Regions from separate parts of the Homo sapiens genome. Here regions 1, 3, 4, 5 and 6 are each linked to region 2. The links are contacts of gene promoters, found by promoter capture Hi-C in blood cells and fetal thymus (Javierre and others, 2016). All regions are on one chromosome and are shown on one strand. The core of a region is centred on a gene start or on the middle of the fragment in contact, and the rest is flanking DNA. Distances in the headings are between cores, read along the strand shown.

Region 1 (2,700 bases), core at 197-2,696, 160 kb after region 2:
TTTTTACAGCAAACACTAAGCATCTACCATATGCCAGATTGTATGCTCTCTGATGAGGATCTGGTGATGAACAAGCCACAGTGCCTATTTTCACCTTACAGTGAAGAAGGCATATTGACAGATAGTTGCTCTTCTATTAATAGTTGCCAGGATAGCTCCATGCCAGGACAGGAATGAGCTCAGAGATGCCTTTACCCTGTTTTGGGAGATGTTGGTCAGAGAAGGCTTCCAGGAGGAGGTGATGAGGTTCTAAAAGTCTACAGGGAGTCAGCCAGGTGGAAGAATAGGGACGTGGCCCCTGGGCAGGGACAGCTTGTTCAGAGATCCCATACTGAGAGAGAGCAGGCCAGGCTGGGGAACTAGAAATATTTAAGAATAGCTGAAGCTTAGCATGGGGGAGTTCTGAGGGCAGGAGGCAGGTGATGAAAGAGGCTTCTATGGAAGGTGGAGACCAGACCTTATATTTACTGTGTTAAAGAGTGTAGACTTAATTTTACAGGCAGTAGGGAAGGCGTCCAGAAATGGAACTATCATGTTTTGCGTATCATATCTTTGCGTTTGGAAAGAGCCCTTTGGCTGGAAGGAGCATGGATTGGAAGTGATAAGCCTGGAGGCAGAGAGACTGGTTTGGAGACTGTTGTCATGGTTCAGTTGATAGATGATGGCAGTTGTAGAGCTGAGAAGCTCTTTGAGGTTAAGAGCTTAGTGCTTTCCGTGTCTTTATACCTCACACGCTGCCTTGATCTTAAAAGAGCTAGCAGATGTTTGTCGATATAACAACATAATAATAGACGTTAGAGGCCAGGCGCGGTGGCTCACACCTGTAATCCCAGCACTTTGGGAGGCCAAGGCGGGTGAATCACGAAGTCAGGAGTTTGAGACCAGTCTGGCCAACATGGTGAAACCCCATCCCTACTAAAAAAAAATACAAAAAATTAGCTGGGCGTGGTGGTGGGCACCTGTAATCCCAGCTACTCGAGAGGCTGAGGCAAGAGAATTGCTTGAACCCGGGAGGCGGAGGTTGCAGTGAGCTGAGATCACGCCACTGCACTCCATCCTGGGAGACAGTAGGAGACTCCGTCTCAAAACAAACAAACAAACAAAAAATAGAGTGTTGAAACCGTGAAAGCATGATGAGAGTGGCTAACATTTATTAAGCCTTTACTATGTGCTGAGAACTGTGGTACACCATGGAATTCACTCTTCACAGCATTTCCTTTGACTCCCATAGTGGAGCCTCATATTCCACAAGGAGAAGCTGAGGCTCAGCTGGGTTAATTAATGTGCCCGAGGCACAGCTGGGATTCAAGTGAAGGTCTGTCCAATTCCAGAGCTCAGGATCTTAACTATGAAATGCTGTATCAGGGCTGGGCACAGTGGGTCACGCCTGATTCCAGCACTTCAGAAGGTTAGGCAGGAGGATCGCTAGAGGCCAGGAGTTGGAGACTAGCCTGAGCAACATAGCAAGACTGTATCGCTACAGAAAAATTTAAACACAAAATTAGCTAGATGTGGTGGAACATGCCTGTAGTCCCAGTTACTCCGGATGCTGAGATGGGAGGATCACTAGAGCCCAGGAGTTTGGGACTGCAGTGAGCCATGATTGTGCCGCTGCACTCCAGCCTGGGCAACACAGCAAGGTCCCATCTCTAAAAAAAAAAAGCTATATCACCTCTTTCTCCTCAAATCTAACAAATCATTTTTACTTTTTGTCATGTGCATGTATTTTGTTTTCTGTTTTTAATTTTTGTTTTTAATTTTTATTTTTAATAGAGATGGGGTCTTACTATGTTGCCCTGACTGGTCTTGAACTCTTGGGCTCAAATGATCCTCTTGCCTCAACCTCCCAGTGTTAGGATTACAGGTGTGAGCTACCACACCTGGTGTATTTACACTTTTTTTATTTTTTTGAGGCAGAGTCTTGCTCCAATTTCCAGGCTGGAGTGCAGTGATACGATCTTGGCTCACTGCAGCCTCCACCTCACAAGTTCAAGTGATTCTCCTGCCTCAGCCCCCCAAGTAGGTGGGATAACAGGCCTGCACCACCATACCCGGCTAATTTTTGTATTTTTTGGTATAGATGGGGTTTGCCATGTTGCCCAGGCTGGTCTTGAACTACTGAGCTCAGGTAATCTGCCCACCTTGGCCTCCCAAAGTGTTGGGATTATAGGCATGAGCCACTGGACCCAGCCACATGTTCAGATTAGGAAATAAGATAATTCTGTAAATACTTGATTCTAGTTGACTTTCCAAATTTGAATTTTAGAGCTGGATGCAGTGGCTCACGCCTGTAATCCCAACACTTTGGGAGGCTGAGGCAGGTGGAGTACCTAGGACCACAGGTGTGTACCACCATGCCCCGCTAATTTTTTGTAGAGGTGGTGTCTTATTATGTTGCCTGGGCTGGTCTTGAACTCCTGGCCTCAAACGATCCTCCCGCCTCAGCCTCCCAAAGTGCTGGGATTACAGGTGTGAGCCACCATGCCTGGCCAGAAATTGCTTTTTAAGCAAGCTTTGTCTTTGGGGAAAATTGACAGGGAAGGGAATGGTAAAGTTTGTTTATACTCATTATTTTTCCTGAATAGTGTTATGTTCAATCTGAAAGCACTATAATTAATGGGATTATGAAAGTTGCAGATACCAGGATGAAACCGCTTTTGTCAAAATAGGACAAGGAAGGTGTGAAGTAGAGGAAGCTCA
Region 2 (2,740 bases), core at 46-2,545:
CAGAAGGATCAGGATCATATCCAGGATGCCCCACATACACCAAGCCAGGCAGAGGGCAGCTCAGCTCCTGTCCCATCTGCTTTGGATATCTTTACCCAAAGGCAGGTAACCCGAAGAGCCAGCCTCCACTGCCCACAGAGCCAGGCCCAGTTGTGTTGGAGTATAGGTCAGGAGCTGTGGAAGGAGGCAGTCTGTGAGGGACTCATGCTTTAGGAGTCCTCACCCCTCAGACTGCTGCAGGACATTGCCAGGCCTCTCTCCACTTCCTTCCTCAGCATACAGACTTCATGCTATCTTCCAATTCCGGGGAGTCTTAGCTATTAGGGCAGTTTCTGCTTCTCCATTTTGGGGACAAAGGCCTTGCCCAGTACAAATCTAGCCCCTTGTCCCACAGACTTCTGGATGGTATAAACCTAGTGGCAATGTAGCAACCATAGGCTAGAACCAAACCCAAGATTTGGGTCAGTGCCCTGTTAAGGGTTTTAGGATTGGTAAGGACACCACAGCTAAATCTGACATGTAAAAGGATACCCTTCCCCTGTCCCACTACGGGTGGAGGCTAAGGACCTCCTCAGATCCCACAGATTGCCTGGTGACATTGGGCACAGGGCTGGATGGTGTGCTGTTTGAGAGGACAGCATGCTCAGGAGATTTCAGTGGGAATGATCTCTAGGCTGATGTGTATTTGGGGAAGTGGGGGTGGGGAAGAGGTAGGTGCCTGCTGCCTCAAACCACCTTGTGTAAAATCTGCAATACGGCTTCTTCCATGTACCTGTGCCTGAACTGTCTGCAATAAAGAAGAATTTGTAAACTGTGGTTTCTTTCTTCCAACCTGAGGGTGCCAGGTGGGACAAGGGGATGCTGGGGGACAGTAGGGAACAATGACTGGTCATTGTAGTGGGATCATCTCCCCTGCTCTTGCAATTCCTGAGTTTTATGACCTCGAGGGTAGCCTCAGGCCTTGAGTTATTCCGACCCATTCCCAAAGGGAACCTGAGGCACCTGCCAATTCAGCATATTCTGGGGGTCTGAGGGACCTTAGCATGGGCGGCTAAGTTGACCCCGTCCCAGGACCATCGGAGTCCATGCTCTGGGAGTGGGCAGGGACCTGGCGCCTTCTGAGTCGAGTAGGGCTTTAGGTGGCCCAGTGCGTGGACGCTTACTTCAGCCCCGTGGGACTTTCCTGACCTCGCGGACACAGGGGCGGGGCCGCCGAGGGGGACTGGCTGCGGGAGGGGTTTAGGCTTCCGCCCCCAGCCCGGAACCTTTCTTCTCCGGCCCTGGCAGGTTCCGGGAGCCTCGGCTCGTGGGTGCCGGAAGTGGAGGCGGTTGGTGGGGTTGGCGGGGCTCAGCGACGCTGCGCGGGTGGCGGTTTGCGAACTGCGGGTGGACTGTGTAGTGACCGGCGTCCCGCTGTCTCGCCCCGTGGCGGGTGAGCGAGGGTGCGTGGTGCGCGGCGGCGGCGGAACGAACGCGGTGCGGGCGGGGCGCCCGCCGCAGGGCCCATGGCCTCCTGCGCGAGCATCGACATCGAGGACGCCACGCAGCACCTGCGGGACATCCTCAAGCTGGACCGGCCCGCGGGCGGTGAGCGGGGGTTGCGGGGGTGGGCCCCAGGCGAGCTGACAAAAGGGCGGCGCGCGTCTGAACCGCCATTGGGGCCCACAGCTCCCTTAGGACTAGCTCTGGATCCTCCCGGCGGGTAAGGGTGGACGGGGATTGACTGTGCCCCTCGAAGGGCGCAGACCCCTGGGTGTGACCCCTCCCTATCTTGTCCTCAGGCTGTTCTGCCTTGTCCTTCAGCGTCTCGGTTGAAGGTGAGGCGCCTTCTCTGAATCCGCTGGGGCCCTCTGGTTTCCTGGCCCCGAGGTCTCTAGTGTTCCTGGGACTGGCCTAGCTCCTCTTCCCTTTCTCCATGGTTCAGAGGCCTGGTCTGGGCTCCGTATATGGAATTCTGGGCCCAGGCTTAAGCGCGATGCTGAAGAGCTGCCGGTCCCCCTCCATAACTTGCCCTTCTCTCTGGAATAAAGACTCCAGGCCTCCCGTTCTGAAACTGATTTCCAGGAGGAAGGTGTCCAGTCTCAATTCCGTGTTCTTTCTGGGATGAAGGCAAATCACAGACCGCACCACCCTGACTGAATTATGCTACAAATATCTGCAAGCCCTAATTGGTTCCCATTCATTCATATTTCGCTTTGGCTCTTAATGATACCTCAGAACTAGTCTTGCCCCCAAAGATTCCCCAAGACACAGCTAACAGGGTTGTAATATACTGTTGTCATTGAAAGAAAGGAGTGTCTCGATACTGTGATGGGCGTGGGAAGGGTGGAGGCTGGTGAGTGCAGAGTGCAGGTCTGAGAGGGGAGACTGGGCTAGGTCTTGTAATGTGAACAGGGGCTTGGGTGTCAGGAAAGGCACCCAAGGCACCTATGGAGAAGCCACCTATTAGGAAGAGGAAATAGCACGTGTGCAGGCACTAGTTTACTGACAGGTTTAGGGATCTCTGAAGTGGCCGGTGATGATGGTGTGGGCGTACAGTGGAGAATTGTGTTTCCTCAGATCTTGTTCTTACACCTGCTGGGAGGCCCAGACTGGCTGCTTCTGGAAGCAGGCACTGGTGCTCACTAGGGGTGGATTCAACTAACCCCTACTTTCAGAAAATCCATCTGCTGCCTGAGACCACTCGGCCCTTTGTCCCAGGCCTGGAGTGTGTGCCCTCTTTACTCATGAGTTGGGCGTG
Region 3 (2,757 bases), core at 86-2,585, 200 kb after region 2:
CACTGGGTGAAAGGTGATATTATCATTCCTGCTGAGCCATCTCTTGGCAGCTCCTCAAGAGGGTGTGCTATCACAGAGAAAGGGAGCGGCTTTCAAGCATAGGCAGGGCTGCTTCTGGTCCAGCCAGGTGCCTTCTTCCCAGACAAGCTGAGTCAAGGACTTGCCACCAGCCGGGGCGCCCCGACTTACTTCCCACTTTGTCCTGAGCGTGCCGTGGCACTTTCCCAGCCACTGAAGTCATAGGCCCACGTGGAGTTACTAGAGCAGCATAGGGGGTGGGGGATGGGAGGGTGTCCTGGAGGGCTGGGGAAGGCCACCTTCACCCAATACTGCTCTCCTGCCCTACCTCTAGCCAGCCGACTTCCACTGGGTGTCCCAGGCAGTCAGTCATCTTGCCTCCCTGAGCCTTCATTTCACGGTCTGTGGAGTGATGGTGACAGTTGCACCTCACACTTGTATAGATAAATGTAGTCATGAGTAACCCATGTGAACTAAATGATGCTGTGTTTTACCCACGTAGGGGGAAGTTAGAGGCTATTCAAGATGTGGGAAGGGAAGGTGCCCATTCTGGTTAGAAGGAATAGAAGAATCTCACCCCTTTCCTGGCACTGGACCTGCCATGCCAGAATTTGGTGTGTTTCCCCTCCCTTCCCTGGAAGATACTTGGCAGTAGGTCCTCTGTGGTGGCTGAAGCAGGAAGGGGCTCCCGCACTTCGAGACCTCAGTCAGGCTGTCCAGGAGAATGTGTTTCTGACCGTGGTCCTTGGCTGTGACCCTCAAGCTTTGTACCACTAGCTGGAAGAGTAGATGACCAAGGTCGAAGTGGCTTTTTAATTTATTTTTATTTTTATTTTTAATTTTAGATAGGGTCTCAGTCTGTTGCCCAGGCTGGAGTGCAGTGGCATGATCATAGCTCACTACAGCCACAACTCCTGGGTGCAAGCAATCCTCTTGCCTTAGCCTCCCTAGTAGCTATGGCTACAGGTGTGTGCCAACATGCCTGGCTAATTTTCTTTTTCTTTTTTTTTTTTTTTTTGAGACAGAGTTTTGCTGTTGTCGCCCAGGCTGGAGTGCAGTGGCACGATCTTGGCTCACCGCAACCTTCGCCTCCAGGGTTCAAGCGATTCTCTTGCCTCAGCCTCCCGAGTAGCTGGGATTACAGGCACCCGCCACCACGCCCAGCTAATTTTGTATTTTTAGTAGAGACGGGGCTTCACCATGTTGGTCAGGCTGGTCTTGAACTCCTGACCTCAGGTGATCCGCCCGCCTTGGCCTCCCAAGGTGCTGTGATTACAGGCGTGAGCCACCGTGCCCAGCCGATAATTTTCTTTTTTTTAATTTTTGTAGAGTTGAGTCTTACGTTGCCCAGGCTGCTCTTGAACTCCTAGCCTCAAGCAGTCCTCCTGCATTGGCCTCTCAGAGTGCTGGGATTACAGATGTGAGCCACTGCTCCTGGCCAGTGGTGGTTCTTCTTATGGGGGTCACATTGCCTTGGCTACACATACATCTCTGGTGCCTTCTTGGAGCTCCTTTCCCTGCCATCAGAGCATAGCCCAGGCCTTAGAGCCTGCCTGGGCATCAGGCAAGTCATTTCTTTTCTCAGGCGGTGCAGTATGACAACCACTACACCAACACCAAGTACTGCTTGTGCCAGATGCTACGAGAACAGCTGGAGTCGCCCCAGGGAAGGTTGCTCCATGCTGCCCAGTCTTCCCGGGAAATTTGGTAAGAGGCACAATAAGATGTCCATCTGTCCTTGTACGCATTGCCCAAGTTTGACTTTGAGCCCTAAGCTGACTCCACCAGGGGACCAGGGACACAGCTTCTGGATGTAGATGTAGAGGAGTGGAGTGATGGTACAGCTTTGCCTCCCAGGAGGGGATTCTTTGAAAGCTTTGAAACGTCCCATCCCTGGACGGATCAGCAGAGCTCTGGGAACTAGGGTACTAGAAGGATAGAGGAATGCAAAGGAAGGGGATTTTCCATAAATGGGATAGTCACAGGCCAGGCCCCCAGGAACCAGTGGTCAGGAGAATTGGGCTGTAGCATGGAGCCTCTACCTTGAGCCTGCACTCACATCCATCACCCTGCAGTTTGAGAGACCACCTGTTGATTCTCTAGATCAGGTGCAGCTCTAGCTCAGATGGTTGACAGTTGAGGCCCTTCACAAGCTGGCCTAGCCACTGCCCCCACAGCTCCCTGTCTACCTGTCTGCTTCCAGAACTCCACACCTGTGCTTGTAATGGGTCGTCTGCCTGGAAGGCTCTCTCCCTCTCACGTGAGCTATCTGTAGCCTCCCTCTTACATAGATGCCTTTCTGAACCACTTTTGCCATTGGGGATCTATCTTCGTTTGAGTCTTCCAGCCTTCAAGATGTTTCCTAGAAGGGAAAAACCTTTGCCAGAGCCCTCTTCCCACCCTTGGCTTATGGCATTGGTTCAGTCCCTACCCCACATAACTCTGTAGCTCTGGGTGGTGCCTCAGTGTCAGCTGAGACCCATGTATAACTGCCTGTGGCTGGGCGGGAAGTGGGGAACCACTTAGTGGTCAGGCCTCTGTCTCTTCCTCCCATGGGCCCATGTGCTTGATCAGCATTGGTTAACTCAGTCACGGCTGGCTGGGGATACCATCTGTGTGCTTCCCCTCAGGAGAGAGGCTGCAGGTGGTGGGGGTGACCTTTACAACCTTTGCCACCCAGCCCAGCCTCCCTCCAGTGTCCACGCTTGGGTTCACATTCACTTTCCATCTTCCAGTCCA
Region 4 (2,700 bases), core at 98-2,597, 180 kb before region 2:
CTTCATAGGAAATTATACAAATGAAAGGATACATACTAAATACATTTACAGGGGATAGGGAAACCAGAGTAGAGAAAGGGGATAAAGGGGAATAATTTAAAAAAAAAAAAAAAGGCCGGGCACGGTGGCTCATGCCTGTAATCTCAGCTCTTTGGGAGGCTGAGGAGGGCGAATCACGAGGTCAGGAGATTGAGACCATCCTGGCTAACATGGTAAAACCCCGTCTCTACTAAAAATACAAAAACAAAATTATCCAGGCGTGATGGTGGGCACCTGCAGTCCCAGCTACTCGGGAGGCTGAGGCGGGAGAATGGCGTGAACCCAGGAGGCAGAGCTTGCAGTGAGCCGAGATTGCGCCACTGCACTCCAGCCTGGGCGACAGATTGAGACTCTGTCTCAAAAACAAAAACAAAAAAAAAAGGAAAATGTGGTTCTAAAAGGAATCCTTTCTCACTTTTTAAATAAAAAGCTTGCATTTCAAACACAAAGTGACAGATATATGTACCTCTGGTCCTACTAATGGGACACCATCACAAGCTCCCTGATCTAGCCAAATCCAGGGAGTAGCACTGCATCTGCATATTTAGCCAGGACCACTTATAATTCAGACAAAGAACCTTATTTCAAATTAGCCACCACACCTGGCTTTTTGGGTTTTTTTTTTTTTGACACAGTCTCACTCTGTCACCCAGGCTGGAGTCCAGTGGTGCCATCTCGACTCACTGCAACCTCCGCCTCCTGGGTTCAAGTAAGTGGCTGGGACTATAGGTGCGTGTCATCACGCCCTGCTAATCATACCTGGCTAATTTTTTGTGTTTTTTGTAGAGACAGGGTTCCATCATGTTGCCCAAGCTGGTCTCAAACTCCTGGGCTCAAGCAATCCTCCTGCCTTGGCCTCCCAAATTGCTGGGATTACAGGCATGAGCCATGGTCCCTGGCTAGAATCTTTTTTGGGAAGTGGAAAAATGTACATTACAGAATGTACCATTTTAAACCATTTTTAGGTGTACAGTTCAGTGCACTAATACATTCGTATTGTGCAACCATCACCAACATCCACCTCCAGGACTTCATCATCATTCCATACTGAAACTCTGTACCCAGCCAAAATTAACCATTTTAAAGTGAACAATTCAGTGGCCGCTGGGTGCAATGCCTCATGCCTGTAATCCCAGCACTTTGGGAGGCTGAGGTGGGAGGATTACTTGTGCCCAGGAGTTTCAGGCTATAGTGGGTTATGATCATGCCATTGCACTCCAGCCTGGGTGACAGAGCAACAGAAAGACTCTGTCTCAAAAACAAAAAACAAACAAACAAACAAAAAAACCAACCCCCATAATCCAGTGGCATTTAGGACATACTTTTTTTTTTTTAAGACAGAGTCTTGCTCTATCACCCAGGCTGGAATGCAGTGGTGCAATCTTGGCTCACTGCAACTTCCACCTCCCGAGCTCTGAGGCTGAGGCGATTCTCCTGCCTCAGCCTCCTGACTGGCTGGGATTACAGGCACACGCCATCACACCTGGCTAATTTTTTTGTATTTTTAGTAGAGACAGGGTTTCACCATGTTCGCCAGGCTGGTCTCAAACTCCTGACCTCAGGTGATCCGCTCGCCTGGGCCTCCAGAAGTGCTGGGATTACAGGCATGAGCCACTGAGCCTGGCCTAATTTTTTATTTTTTGTAGAGATGGGGTCTCACTGTGTTACCTAGGCTGGTCTCAAACTCTGGCCTCAAACTCCTGGCCTCAAGCGATTCTCTCAGCTCAGCCTCCCAAGGTGGTGGGATTATAAGCGTGACCCACTGAGCCTGGCTTTTTAATAAAAAAGTTTTTTTTAATTTTATTTTAATATAGAGGCAGCATCTTACTATGTTGCCCAGGCTGGTCTTAAATTCCTGGCTTCAAGTGATCCTCCCACCTCGGCCACCCAAAGCACTGGGATTATAGGCATGAGACACCACGGCTGGAGAAATTGTTTTCTCAACTTCATTTTCAAGCCCAGCATCTCTTTTGCTCCTACTGTAGACACAAGTGTACTGGACTAAGAAAATGTCTATAGTAGGGGATGGTTTGTCAGCATAGCCCAGTATAACATCCTGTACTGCTCGATTCTATCTGAAGTACACCTGTTCCTTTGTGAACCACTAAATTACACATGACTTGGGCTGCCTCTAACTCCAGATCCCTGCCAATTTCGTGCCTCTTGTCTCCACTCTCTGTGACTGTGAAGCTTGGCTTGCCTCCTGTACTCTCACTGGGGTTGTTTTATTTTAACCAGCTTTCATTCTTTCTGATGGTAAACTGTCTGTGGCCACTCAGTCACCTTGCTTTCCTTTTCTACTTTCTCCATCTCTCTCTTTTTTTTTTTTTTTTTTTTTTTGAGACGGAGTCTCACTCTGTCGCCTAGGCTGGAGCGTAATGGTGCAATCTCGGCTCACTGCAACCTTTGCCGCTCCGGTTCAAGCGATTCTCCTTGCCTCAGCTACTACCTCAGTAGCTGGGGTTACAGGCACACGCCACCATACCCAGCTAATCTTTGTATTTTTAGTAGAGACAAGGTTTTACCATGTTGGCCAGGCTGGTCTCGAACTCCTGACCTCAGGTGATCCACCCGCCTTGACCTCCCAAAGTGCTGGGATTACAGGCATGAGCCACTGAGCCCAGCCACCATCTCTCTCTTTTCTCTTTGCTAATTCTGCCC
Region 5 (2,700 bases), core at 34-2,533, 240 kb after region 2:
CAACCTGAGCAGGTTGCACAGCTCTGTGCTTGGGTCCCAAGGCCTTGGTGGCGTGGGCTCATGAGGGGATTTCCTGATCCATGGGATGTACAGATCTGTGGAAAAAGTCTGGTTTCCCGCGCAGGGTAGCACAGTTACTCACCACCTCCCTTGGCTGGGTGTGGGAGTTCGCCTTTGTGGCTACCAGGTCAGGTTGTCGCTCTACCCTGCTTTTCCTAGCTCTGTGTGGATCACACCAACCACCTAGTCAGTCCCAGTGAGAGAACCTGGATACCTCAGTTGACGGAGCAGGATTCACTGGCCGTTTTTGCTCCTCTTAGTGGGAGCCGCAGACTGGAGTGGCTTCTAATCAGCCATCTTGGCTCCTCCTGCCTAAACTAGTGTTTTCTTAACTTCTTTGCAAATGTTTTTTCTTGAAGTTGTTTCTTTCACACTATTCATGGAGGCTAATTGTTTAGTCACTTTAAACTCTGCATTGACTCTTCAATAAATAACAACTGAGCAGATGTTGGTAACATCTGGCAGCACATCAAGGGCCAAGGAAAAGCACTTTTTTTTTTTTTTTTTGAGACGGAGTCTTGCTTTGTTGCCAGGCTGGAGTGCTGTGGTGCAATCTTGGCTCACTGCAACCTCCGACTCCCTGGTTCAAATGATTCTCCTACCTCAGCCTCCCAAGTAGCTGGGATTACAGGCAAGTGCCACCACGCCCAGATAATTTTTGTATGTTTAGTAGAGACGGGGTTTCACCATGTTGGCCAGGATAGTCTCGAACTCCTGATCTCGTGATCCGCCTGCCTCTGCCTCCCAAAGTGCTGAGATTACAGGCGTCAGCCACCGCACCTGGCCGGAAAACCACTTTTTAAGGAAATCGTTTGTTTTATTTTGTAATTAACCTATTAATGTTGCTACCAATGTCCTCAGTTTTTCTACCAGTTGTTCTTGCTGAAAGGCTAATAGTCTTGTAAGTTTTTCTCTGAACATATTTCCGTGGTTTCTCCGGTGAAACACAATTTAAATAACTCACCATCAGTAAATGACTTTCTTTTTTTTTTTTTGAGACCAAGTCTCACTCTGTCACCGAGGCTGGAATGCAGTGGTGCAATCTCAGCTCACTGCAACCTCCGCCTCCCGGCTTCAAGTGATTCGCCTTGCCTCAGCCTCCCAAGTAGCTGGGATTACAAGCGCCTGCCACTATGCCTGGCTAAATTTTGTATTTTAGTAGAGATGAGGTTTTGCCATGTTGTCCAGGCTGGTCTCGAACTCCTGACCTTGTGATCCACCTGCCTCAGCTTCCCAAATTGCTGGGATTATAGGCATGAGCCGCTGCACCCGGCCCCAGTAAATGACTTTCTTTACTTTGCTAGCAAATGAGCCATTTTATTTTCTTTGTTTTTTGTTTTTGTTTTTTTTGAGAGACGGAGTCTTGCTCTTGTCACACAGGCTAGAGTGCAGTAGTAGCGCAATCTCGGCTTACTGCGACCTCCGCCTCCCGGGTTCAACTGATTCCCCTGCCCCAGCCTCCCAAGTAGCTGGGATTACAGGCACGCGGCACCATGCCCAGCTAATTTTTGTATTTTTAGTAGAGACAGGGTTTCACCATGTTGGCCAGGCTGGTCTTGGACTCCTGATCTCAAGTGATCTGCCCCCTTTGGCCTCCCAAAGTGCTGGAATTACAGGCGTGAGCCACCATACCTGGCCGATTGTTTTTTTTTGTTGTTGTTGTTTGTTTTAAATTTTTTTTCTTTTCCTGTGAGTTGGGAGTATTATGATGAATGCATTACTGTGGTAATGCATATATATGGCCATAATGTTATTGCACATCTAATTTGATAACAGTATAACCACACTCCACTGTGCTTTAAAAGGGCAACATTCAAAGTCTACTTTTCTTTTTGTGTTATGCACTAGTAAAAATTTTTTTAAAGTCACAGTATATACGTATGCATTGCACTCATTAGAACTTTGTCACTGCAATTTGTGTCCATCAAGCAGCAATGTGAAGGAATAGGGGTAGTACATGTGGTCCCTTTGACAGTTACTCAGTTCTACCCTTGTGTGAAAATAACCATAGATAGTATATAAATGAATGAGCATGGTTGTGTTTCAGTAAAACGTTATTTATGGATACCAGAATTTGAATCATAACTTTTTTTTGTCATGACACAGTTAAAAACAATTTTTTGAAACCATTTAAAACCATTAGTTTGTAGGCTATAGAAAGACAAACTATTATCTGTAGGCTTTCTATAGCCTACAAACTAATGATTTTAAATGTGGCCTACCACTTGTTGGTGGGCCAGACTTGGCACATGGACTGTATTTTGCCAACCTCTGCTTCATACTATACATAAAAACATTCATAAGACAACTTGGGTTGTCCAGATTACTGTATGCTTGCATGAGTCCCTCTGGTGGTTGAAGGAACATGGAACAAGTAATTCTTGAGATGGTGAAATTTCTGAAGCACCTTGAATTTGAGAATTCTAGACTTGGAAATCTGGACTTAGGACTGTTCGTCATAGTTAGATTGTAGTAGCTGCTTATATCATTTCCAGAGGTTGGACACTTGGGAAAAAGATAAAGCAGCATTCCCACAAATTTTGTGTGCAGGTCTCTGCAGCACTTTAAGACATCATTCTGACGTAGAAGATGTTTGCTTCATCTACAGTTTATTTGGGAGAAGGGTGTGGTTTTCAGCAT
Region 6 (2,700 bases), core at 28-2,527, 160 kb before region 2:
AAAGATTTCAGACCTAGTTCCTGCACAGTCAATAAACTAAGACATATATACTGAGCCCATCAAAACCATACTATAGAAAACCATATATACTGAGCTCACCAAAACCATCAGTAGGCTCTTGCAATGTTTAAAAATGTAATAAAGAGCTCCCTCTCCCTCTCCCTCTCCCCCTCCCCCTCCCCCTCCCCCTCTCCCTCTCCCTCCACGGTCTCCCTCTGATGCCGAGCCAAGGCTGGACGGTACTGCTGCCATCTCGGCTCACTGCAACCTCCCTGCCTGATTCTCCTGCCTCAGCCTGCCGAGTGCCTGCGATTGCAGGCGCGCACCGCCACGCCTGACTGGTTTTCGTTTTTTTTTTGGTGGAGACGGGGTTTCGCTGTGTTGGCCGGGCTGGTCTCCAGCTCCTAGCCGCGAGTGATCCGCCAGCCTCGGCCTCCCGAGGTGCCGGGATTGCAGATGGAGTCTCGTTCACTCAGTGCTCAATGGTGCCCAGGCTGGAGTGCAGTGGCGTGATCTCGGCTCGCTGCAACCACCTCCCAGCCGCCTGCCTTGGCCTCCCGGAGAGCCGAGATTGCAGCCTCTGCCCGGCCGCCACCCCGTCTGGGAAGTGAGGAGCGTCTCTGCTTGGCCACCCATCGTCTGGGATGTGAGGAGCCCCTCTGCCTGGCTGCCCAGTCTGGAAAGTGAGGAGCGTCTCTGCCCGGCCGCCATCCCATCTGGGAAGCGAGGAGCGCCTCTTCCCCGCCGCCATCCCATCTAGGAAGTGAGGAGCGTCTCTGCCCGGCCGCCCATCGTCTGAGATGTGGGGAGCACCTCTGCCCCGCCGCCCTGTCTGGGATGTGAGGAGCGCCTCTGCTGGGCGCTCAAGTTCAAGTGATTTTCCTGCCTCAGCCTCCTGAGTAGCTGGGACTACAGGCATGCACCACCACACCCAGCTAATTTTTTTTATTTTTTATAGAGACAGGGTTTCGCCATCTTGGTCAGGCTGGTCTTGAACTCCTGGCCTCAAGTGATCCGCCCACCTCGGCCTCCGAAAGTACTGGGATTACAGGCGTGAGCCGCCACACTGGCCAGACATAAGCATCTTTCATGTTATCATAAATAGTTTTATGGGTTACATAACAGGTATGTCATTGTGAAAGTGGAAAGACAAATTCAAATTGTTTTTCCTCTGCTTTCACACCACAATAATCAACACAGAAGACCAAATGTGTGGGGGTTTCTCCCCACACACCAAGCAAGCAAGCAATTCTGCAGTCAACACCTGCTGGTGTCCTTCAATTCAATTCTGACGATATCTACCTGGAGAATCGCATCAGATCCCCCAGGTAGAGGGCTCAGTCCCACAGACTTCCCCTTCCCGACTTCCAATGCCATCAAAAGCCCCAGGTTGTTTCAACTGTGCCTCTGCCTGATGGGCTACAGACTGGAGATCCTATGACTCCCTCCTTCAGATCAACTAATTTGCTAGAGCAGCTCACAGAACTCTGGGAAACACTTACTTATATTTACTGGTTTATTATAAAGAATATTACAAAGGATAGAGATGAAGAAGGTGCATAGGGCAAGGTATGGGGGAAGGGGCTTGGAGCTTTCATGCCCTCCCTGTGTTTATGGAGGCTTCATTAACTAGGCATGATTGATTAAACCACTGGCCATTGACGATCAACTTAACCTTCAGTCCCACTCTCCTCCCCAGAGGTTGCAGAGTGGGGCTGAAAGTCACAACCCTCTAATCATGCTTTGATGTTTCCTATGACCAGTCCCCAGCCTGAAACTACCCAGGAGCTGCCAGCCACCAGTTAACTCATTAGCATACAAAAAACCATCACTCAGGAGATTCCAGGGATTTGGTTGGTGCAAAAGCAACTGCGGTTTTTGCCATTACTTTGCGGCAAAATCTGCAATTGCTTTTGCACCAACCTATTGAAATTGCATGCCAGGAAACAGAGACAGAAGACCAAATATGTATTTCACAATATCACAGCCACTGACCGTATGAACTAGCTTTTCATTCTCTAGTGTTACACATTTATGACATTTTCATTTTGCTTCCTGTTATACAGGTTAAGAAATTATGGTCCAGAGGCCAGGCAGGGTCACTCCCAACTGTAATCCCAGCACTTTGGGAGGCTGAGGTGAGCCGATCACTGAGGCCAGGAGTTCAAGACCAGCCTGGCCAACATGACGAAACCCCATCTCTACTAAAAATACAAAAATTAGCCAGGCATGAAGGCGCACACCTGTAATCCCAGCTACTCGGGAGGCTGAGGCACAAGAATCGCTTGAACCCAGAAGTGGACATTGCAGTGAGCCGGGATTGTGCCACTACACTCCAGCCTGGGAGATAGAAACACTGTCTCAAAAAAAAAAAAAAAAAAAAATTACGATCCAGAAATTACACGATTTGCCTAAGGTTATCATCCTAAGTAAAATACAATTATGAAAGTAAATAATAAAGATTTTGAGGTTATAAAGTGATACAGTAAAATCTCAAAGCCAAGTAGAAGTGTTTTGGGTTCTATTTTGGGGTTATCTATTCTCATGAGAAATTGAGAGCTGACAATTTGAGAGTAGCACAGTTATCCCAGGCCAGAAAGGAAGACCACACTAAGTACTCAGTTCCCATTTTTCACAGTCTTCATTCCAAATCCTTGATTATAGAGGACTGATAGAAATCTTTACAGAAGCTCTTGGGAA

The links. The method cuts DNA at HindIII sites, captures the fragments that hold promoters and counts their contacts. A CHiCAGO score of 5 or more calls a contact.
Region 1: a contact is called between a fragment that was not itself captured here and the fragment with the promoter of EDC4 in region 2, in 4 of 17 cell types (naive B cells, naive CD4 T cells, naive CD8 T cells and 1 more). The highest score is 5.7, in naive B cells.
Region 3: a contact is called between a fragment that was not itself captured here and the fragment with the promoter of EDC4 in region 2, in 9 of 17 cell types (M1 macrophages, naive B cells, neutrophils and 6 more). The highest score is 6.8, in M1 macrophages.
Region 4: a contact is called between a fragment that was not itself captured here and the fragment with the promoter of EDC4 in region 2, in 1 of 17 cell types (megakaryocytes). The highest score is 5.0, in megakaryocytes.
Region 5: a contact is called between a fragment that was not itself captured here and the fragment with the promoter of EDC4 in region 2, in 1 of 17 cell types (neutrophils). The highest score is 5.6, in neutrophils.
Region 6: a contact is called between a fragment that was not itself captured here and the fragment with the promoter of EDC4 in region 2, in 1 of 17 cell types (erythroblasts). The highest score is 5.4, in erythroblasts.

Annotation. Positions count from the first base shown.
Region 1 is chr16:68,027,555-68,030,254 of GRCh38, forward strand. All of the region lies in intron 2 of DUS2 (dihydrouridine synthase 2), which reads left to right. Among named protein-coding and RNA genes, the nearest start is that of DUS2, 5.6 kb to the left of the region's middle. The HindIII fragment of the contact is 2,127 bases long and covers 384-2,510 here.
Region 2 is chr16:67,871,757-67,874,496 of GRCh38, forward strand. EDC4 (enhancer of mRNA decapping 4) reads left to right here and starts at 1,296. Exons shown (of 29, transcript NM_014329.5): 1 at 1,296-1,587. The coding sequence starts at 1,506. It overlaps NUTF2 (nuclear transport factor 2), which reads left to right. Exons shown (of 5, transcript NM_005796.3): 5 at 1-811. RefSeq lists a silencer at 1,409-1,618 and an enhancer at 1,512-2,012. The HindIII fragment of the contact is 5,556 bases long and covers 1-2,740 here.
Region 3 is chr16:68,072,431-68,075,187 of GRCh38, forward strand. DUS2 (dihydrouridine synthase 2) reads left to right here. Exons shown (of 17, transcript NM_017803.5): 13 at 1,604-1,725. Among named protein-coding and RNA genes, the nearest start is that of NFATC3, 12 kb to the right of the region's middle. The HindIII fragment of the contact is 1,112 bases long and covers 780-1,891 here.
Region 4 is chr16:67,692,632-67,695,331 of GRCh38, forward strand. All of the region lies in intron 1 of GFOD2 (Gfo/Idh/MocA-like oxidoreductase domain containing 2), which reads right to left. Among named protein-coding and RNA genes, the nearest start is that of GFOD2, 25 kb to the right of the region's middle. The HindIII fragment of the contact is 1,760 bases long and covers 468-2,227 here.
Region 5 is chr16:68,114,027-68,116,726 of GRCh38, forward strand. The region is part of intron 1 of NFATC3 (nuclear factor of activated T cells 3); the gene reads left to right. Among named protein-coding and RNA genes, the nearest start is that of NFATC3, 30 kb to the left of the region's middle. The HindIII fragment of the contact is 6,857 bases long and covers 1-2,700 here.
Region 6 is chr16:67,712,111-67,714,810 of GRCh38, forward strand. All of the region lies in intron 1 of GFOD2 (Gfo/Idh/MocA-like oxidoreductase domain containing 2), which reads right to left. Among named protein-coding and RNA genes, the nearest start is that of GFOD2, 5.9 kb to the right of the region's middle. The HindIII fragment of the contact is 4,334 bases long and covers 1-2,700 here.